2 separate regions of the Homo sapiens genome follow, and region 1 is linked to region 2. Evidence: promoter capture Hi-C in human tissues and cell types (Jung and others, 2019). All regions are on one chromosome and are shown on one strand. Each heading gives the region's core, a stretch centred on a gene start or on the middle of the fragment in contact. The rest is flanking DNA. Distances are from core to core; before and after follow the strand shown.

Evidence for each region. The method cuts DNA at HindIII sites, captures the fragments that hold promoters and counts their contacts. A contact is called where the count stands out against the background at its distance.
Region 1: a fragment that was not itself captured here is called in contact with the fragment with the promoter of PACRG in region 2 in 1 of the 25 tissues and cell types used here (heart left ventricle).

The regions. Positions count from the first base shown.
Region 1 is chr6:162,194,996-162,197,705 of GRCh38, forward strand. The region is part of intron 4 of PRKN (parkin RBR E3 ubiquitin protein ligase); the gene reads right to left. Among named protein-coding and RNA genes, the nearest start is that of LNCR-SMAL, 38 kb to the right of the region's middle. The HindIII fragment of the contact is 3,906 bases long and covers 1-2,710 here.
Region 2 is chr6:162,726,490-162,729,298 of GRCh38, forward strand. PACRG (parkin coregulated) reads left to right here and starts at 1,485. Exons shown (of 5, transcript NM_001080379.2): 1 at 1,485-1,902. The coding sequence starts at 1,747. It overlaps PRKN (parkin RBR E3 ubiquitin protein ligase), which reads right to left and starts at 1,277. Exons shown (of 12, transcript NM_004562.3): 1 at 1,173-1,277. The coding sequence starts at 1,179. RefSeq lists silencers at 855-1,394, 884-1,105. The HindIII fragment of the contact is 3,880 bases long and covers 1-2,012 here.

The sequences.
Region 1 (2,710 bases), core at 191-2,690, 530 kb before region 2:
CGACAGTGAACACGGGGGCCACCCTGGCTTTGGTAGATGCCAGACATGCATTGTGTTCTGCACACTTTCCACCCTGGAGCTTATGAATCCACACAGAAACCAGCTTCGCTGTAGATTTAACACTGTAACGCGATGCAAAACAGAATGCATGGTGGCCGGTTCCACTCTCACTGTCGGGACATCCAAAACATGCCCTACAAATACTGTCAATAACATAAAATAATGCGTAATGCCTCCTCCACTGTGCTTTCAAAGCACTGAAACGCCTGATAACCAAATCTACAATAAGCAAAGAGGGGATATCACACACTTAGGCAAAAACACCCCATGTGAAAACTAGAAAGTAAGCTTAGGTCTATTCTAAGACTTGAATTTCTTACATAAATGTGAGAGTAATTTTGATAACAAGAGAGGTAAGAAGACTCCTGGCCAACAATTAATCTGTAACAAATATTAAGCTTAGGAATGATTTTACATTTAGACTGTATTTCTTAATAAATTTCCTCACATAAATTGTGCCTAATCTATAAACTAATTTTAAACAAAATCCATCATGCCAGGCACTTTACATCTTACTCTATTTATTGCACCATTTCTCATCAGAAACCTTTTAGCTTTAATGCTATTCCATGGCAGAGTATCTCATTAGAGTGGCAAAGATAAAGTTCTTTTTGAGATAAAGTAATTACGGTGATTGTAGCGGGGAGGGGGTCACCCAAAGTTCTTGGCTACAGTAATCTCCTGGCTTCTGATTCATTTTAAGACCAATAAACTGAGTACAAACAAAAAGATGTTAATGGTGGATAACTCTGGTTACCTAGAGTTTGTCCTGGAGGGATTAGCAATTCATAACCTTAATCAGAACTAGAGTCCTGGAGAATTTTGCTCCCAGGAAAATATTTCAAGACCAGATGCTGTATGTGCTCTCAGCTCACTTCTATGTCAATTCTATCTTCTAATTATTATTAAAGTCAATCAAGTATTTCACTCTATAAAAAGCCTTACTATATTTTAAGCCAATTTTCTGTTCCAAAGACTAGTCAGTTACTTCCTATCCCAGGGGCTTTGCTTTCTTGAGGAGGCACAAGTCAGTTGAAATATGGGCTATGGCCAAGACAATGATAGTAGCAAGGGACAGGACTCCTCAGCCATGATCAGAAAGAGTACTGTTAGGATTTAGTGAGAAGCCTTCAGGGGAAGGAGGAGGCTTGGTTTTCAAATCATGCCAAGGGACAGACTTACCATTGCCATGGAGTCAAATTAACCTTACCAGCCCAGTCAAAATAATTAAAAATTAATACAGTCTCTGATAAAGTTTGTTGATATAAATTGGTGCTAGGGAAATATTTCAAGGAAACAATGACATGAGTTATTTTAAATTATTAATTTCATTGGTCAGGAACCCAATCAGAATTAAATATGCACATATAAAACAACCTCCCTTGTGTGTTCAACTCTGTCTCATTTCTGCATGGACCTCAGTGGATGACTTTTGAAGAAGCAGATGAAAAGTGAATGCTTGCCAATTAGCTATTGTTCACCGTTTTCCAGTAAGCATTCATATTTCTAAAGGATTATAGTCTAGTCCAAACTCTGATCAAGGTCACCATGCAAGAAAGAGGATATTCTGATATGGAGATGAAGAAAATTTGAGTCCGGGTTGGTTCTCAACTTACCTATGAGGTCAGGTGAAAACTTCAGACATCAGTTCCCCATGCCTAACATCAGGACAAAATTAACTATCCATTTCCTTTACAATTTGTTAGAGTATCATATTAAATGTGAAACATGATTAAACTGGAGCATCACATTTGAAAAGCAACTCATTATTATTACATGTAAATTTTAAATAGCATTCAGGAAATGTTAGAATTAAGAACAAATCACCAATAAAAACTTTAGAAGATTACCATTTAGACTCATGATATGAGTGGATCTCGTTGCAAACTGATTTTTCCAAATGAGAAAAAATACAATTATACTTTCAAAAATAACCCAGGTGGCTAACCAGGTTCCAGTTTTCCTCCTTAGGTATAAAAATCTTGCTGAAGTTCACATAAACCACATGCTGCTCACCTATAACTAGTCAGCCACACAAGATCCTATATTGTATTTTTGTTCTTGATCAGAGACAATTATGTAAGTTATCGATCCTTATAAAGTTCTAGAAAATGAAACCTCAGAATTGCCTATTATTCACACAGCAATCTTTACACTTGGCAAAGTTTAGCACCTACTCCATTATTGCAAAGCCTAAATTTGCTGGTGAATCAGTAGTGTGACTGGTCGGCTGATCCACAGAAATATTATTTGTAGGTGTTACTGAATGTGTATTTTTGTTATTGAAAAATTGAAACATCTGATCTTCTCCTATGGACTAGCTACACTAGATCTAGTTACTGTACTAAAATATGGATTATATAAGTTATCTTTGATTTAATTGTCCCTAAATCCATAAGCATATTTTTTTCAAGAGTATGTTTCAGTTATATTTTAAGTACAAGGGAAGTAGTTAGAAAATAGAACACTGATTACTAGATTTGTATAGTGAGGACTATATCCTAGTAAAGGCCAGGGCTATGGAAAAATACAAAGCAGATTTTTCACTCCTGGCTTCGATATTTATGAACTGTGTAACTTTGGGCTCATTACTTAACCTCATGGAGTCTCTTTGTAAAAACACTGGATGAGAATTGGAGAAAAATAGAAA
Region 2 (2,809 bases), core at 235-2,734:
AGAAAGGGAAGAAAAGTTGGACAACATTCTTGTTTTACCACAAAGACCATGCCAGTTAGCTGGCTTGATTCTCCCACTGATGGGGAGAATGTTTACATTTTAACAATAACTTCACAAATAAACAGATGTAAGAAGTGTTTTCAGTGCATAAAGATCATATACTTTATAAATCCACCTCTCATCTTTCTTCTGGACAGACCACATCTGACTTCGAACGTACTTACTGCAATCAAAAGTGTTTTGTAAAGGACCCTCCTCAGGAATAAACAAGCTCACTAAACCCTCCATACATAACCTGGAGAAACCTCCACAATAATGAAACCCCATCTAGCACTGTTTTTCAAACATATGGTGCATTTCCATTAATTTTCAGGGATAGCCCCTAAAGTAACTTTTGGCTCAACAACCCTGGAAGAGAGGACCTTTGCTCATCTTACACATCAAGTGTTCATGAACAACTCTGATGCCACTAAGTTTCGTTCACAAACTTGCACCTCGGTCGTTCTTTTACAAAAAAAAAAAAGAAAGGTTATTTTGCAAAAGGCAATAGATTTAATCTTGGCTACTATTTACTCTTAATGTTTCTTTCATCTCAGCCCTCCAATGAGAAGTTTAAAAGGAAACATCCGAGGGAGCAAGTTTAGATCTATCTGGAGGAGTTTCTGTGGAGCCAGCCACCCTCACCAGGTGCCTTCCATTAGAGTTTAATGCTTTGCTGCGGTTTCCTGAAAGAGCCCCACAGAGAGTGGGTCTCGATGGGTCCTGAACCGCACCACAACCGGCCAGTGAGGTGAGGGGCGAAGGTGAGGGGCGGCGGCGGGGCGAAGGTGAGGGGCGGCGGCGGGGAGAAGGCTTCGGGACCCCACACGGTCCGGGGGACCGCGAACGAGGAGCGGGGGTGCGGGGCCGCCTGGCGTCCCCGTCGAGGCGGTCTTCATGAGAACGCTCAGAGCAGGGGCGGGCAGGCGAGGGCTTCGAACGCACACACTGGGGCCCCGGACCCGCGTCGCTGAGCTGGGGAGCCCGGCGGCGCGGGCCGGGGACGGCACGGGCACTTTGGCCCCGTCATTGACAGTTGGCACCGGGGGTCCTGGTCGGCCGAGGCGGGGCGTGGCGCCATACCGGGGCGTGGGGCGGCGCAGAGAGGCTGTACCTGGCAGGTACCCACGTACCTATCATGGTCACTGGGTAGGTGGCGGCTGCGGGCCAGGAACAGGCCCATGCGCGCAGCGGCGCCAGCCGCGCCTCCCACCAGCGGCTCTCCTGGGTTAAATCCTCCAGGCCTCCCCGCCCCCGCGCCCGGCCCTAGGAATGCGCACGCGCGGAGGGCGCGGCCCAGGGCCTGCTGGGAGTCGTAGTTCTAACGCGTAGTTTCTCCTCACGCCTCCTGCCCCCAGCCCCCCACCGCCGCCCTTTCCGGCTTCAGGCCCAGCAATCTTACGTCACCGGGGGGCGGGGCTATGCGCCCGCCGTGTTGACCAGTCGCTTAGCAACCGGGAGGCTTACCTTTGGAAGCTTGTTGCAGCTCTAGCCAAGGTCCTGCCCTCTTCCCGCCCCGCCCCTAGGGTCCAGCTCCCTTCACCTAGGAGCTGCCAAACATCTGGATCAACCTGGGCACTACGAGGGGTTGAATTTCTACCATTATCGCGCCTTTTGATATTTTTTTCCAGACCTCCTGCTCACATCCGTAAAGCCCACTGATTCTTTTACTACACTTTTTATGAGAACAAGACATTTTCTAGGAAGATGGTGGCAGAAAAAGAGACCCTGAGCTTAAACAAATGCCCAGACAAGATGCCGAAGAGGACCAAGCTGCTGGCACAACAGCCGCTCCCGGTGCACCAGCCTCACTCTCTGGTTTCTGAGGGTTTCACAGTCAAAGCCATGATGAAAAACTCAGTCGTAAGTGATCTTCCTGAATTAAATGCACTCGCTCTGAATCAGGGGACACGAGATTTACAGAGGTTGGCCAGCCTTAGGATGGACTCTGAGCCATGTCCTGGGTGGTCTTTGCCAAAAAAGGCAGTTACTTGGCAAGTAGCAAACGGTGCCCCACAGTGTGTGGGGGGCAGGCTAGGTTGTTAGAATCTTGGGCAAGTGATGTACTCTGCCCATTTATAAGCACCTTCCTGATAACTTATGGTTTCTGGACCGCCCAAAATTACTCTTAAGCTATTTACACGAGGAAAAAAGATCCCCTTTACTTACTAATTCCTAACTAGCCCCACTCAGCAAAGGGCCTTATAGAAGGTGAGTTCTTAGAAATCATAAACTCTTGCAAAATTTAACATGAGCTGATATACAACCGGGAACATAAACTCATGAAATAATCTATAATGAGAAATTTCTTCACTTCAACCTAGGAAATTTTAGAATATCCTAGCATTTGCTCTAACAACACTTGTCTCTTACAAAATGATGTCATCTTCTTAGAGTACTGAAAGCCAACTTAATATGAACACTGTTTCCTGACAGGCCTTTTAAGATGATGTGCTTTAAACAATACAAGCTTTAGCTCATATATCTCTGCTACTAATACAATTCATATTTCATCTCTATTATTTGTAGTAATAAAAATAAAATATTCTAAGTATCATTAGAGAAAAAAGATTAAAAATATATACAAATATTTTAGCTGTCTGCATGATAGTATATATTTTTTAAACCTTCCTATTTGTTAAATAGCTTTACACTTGGTATGCTAAGACAGATTTTGCTACTGAGTAAGCAACTGTCTGGGAATGAGGCATTAAATAATAAATGCATCTTTCAAATTTGTGTAATTTACACCCTGGGAAGATCTGAGTTA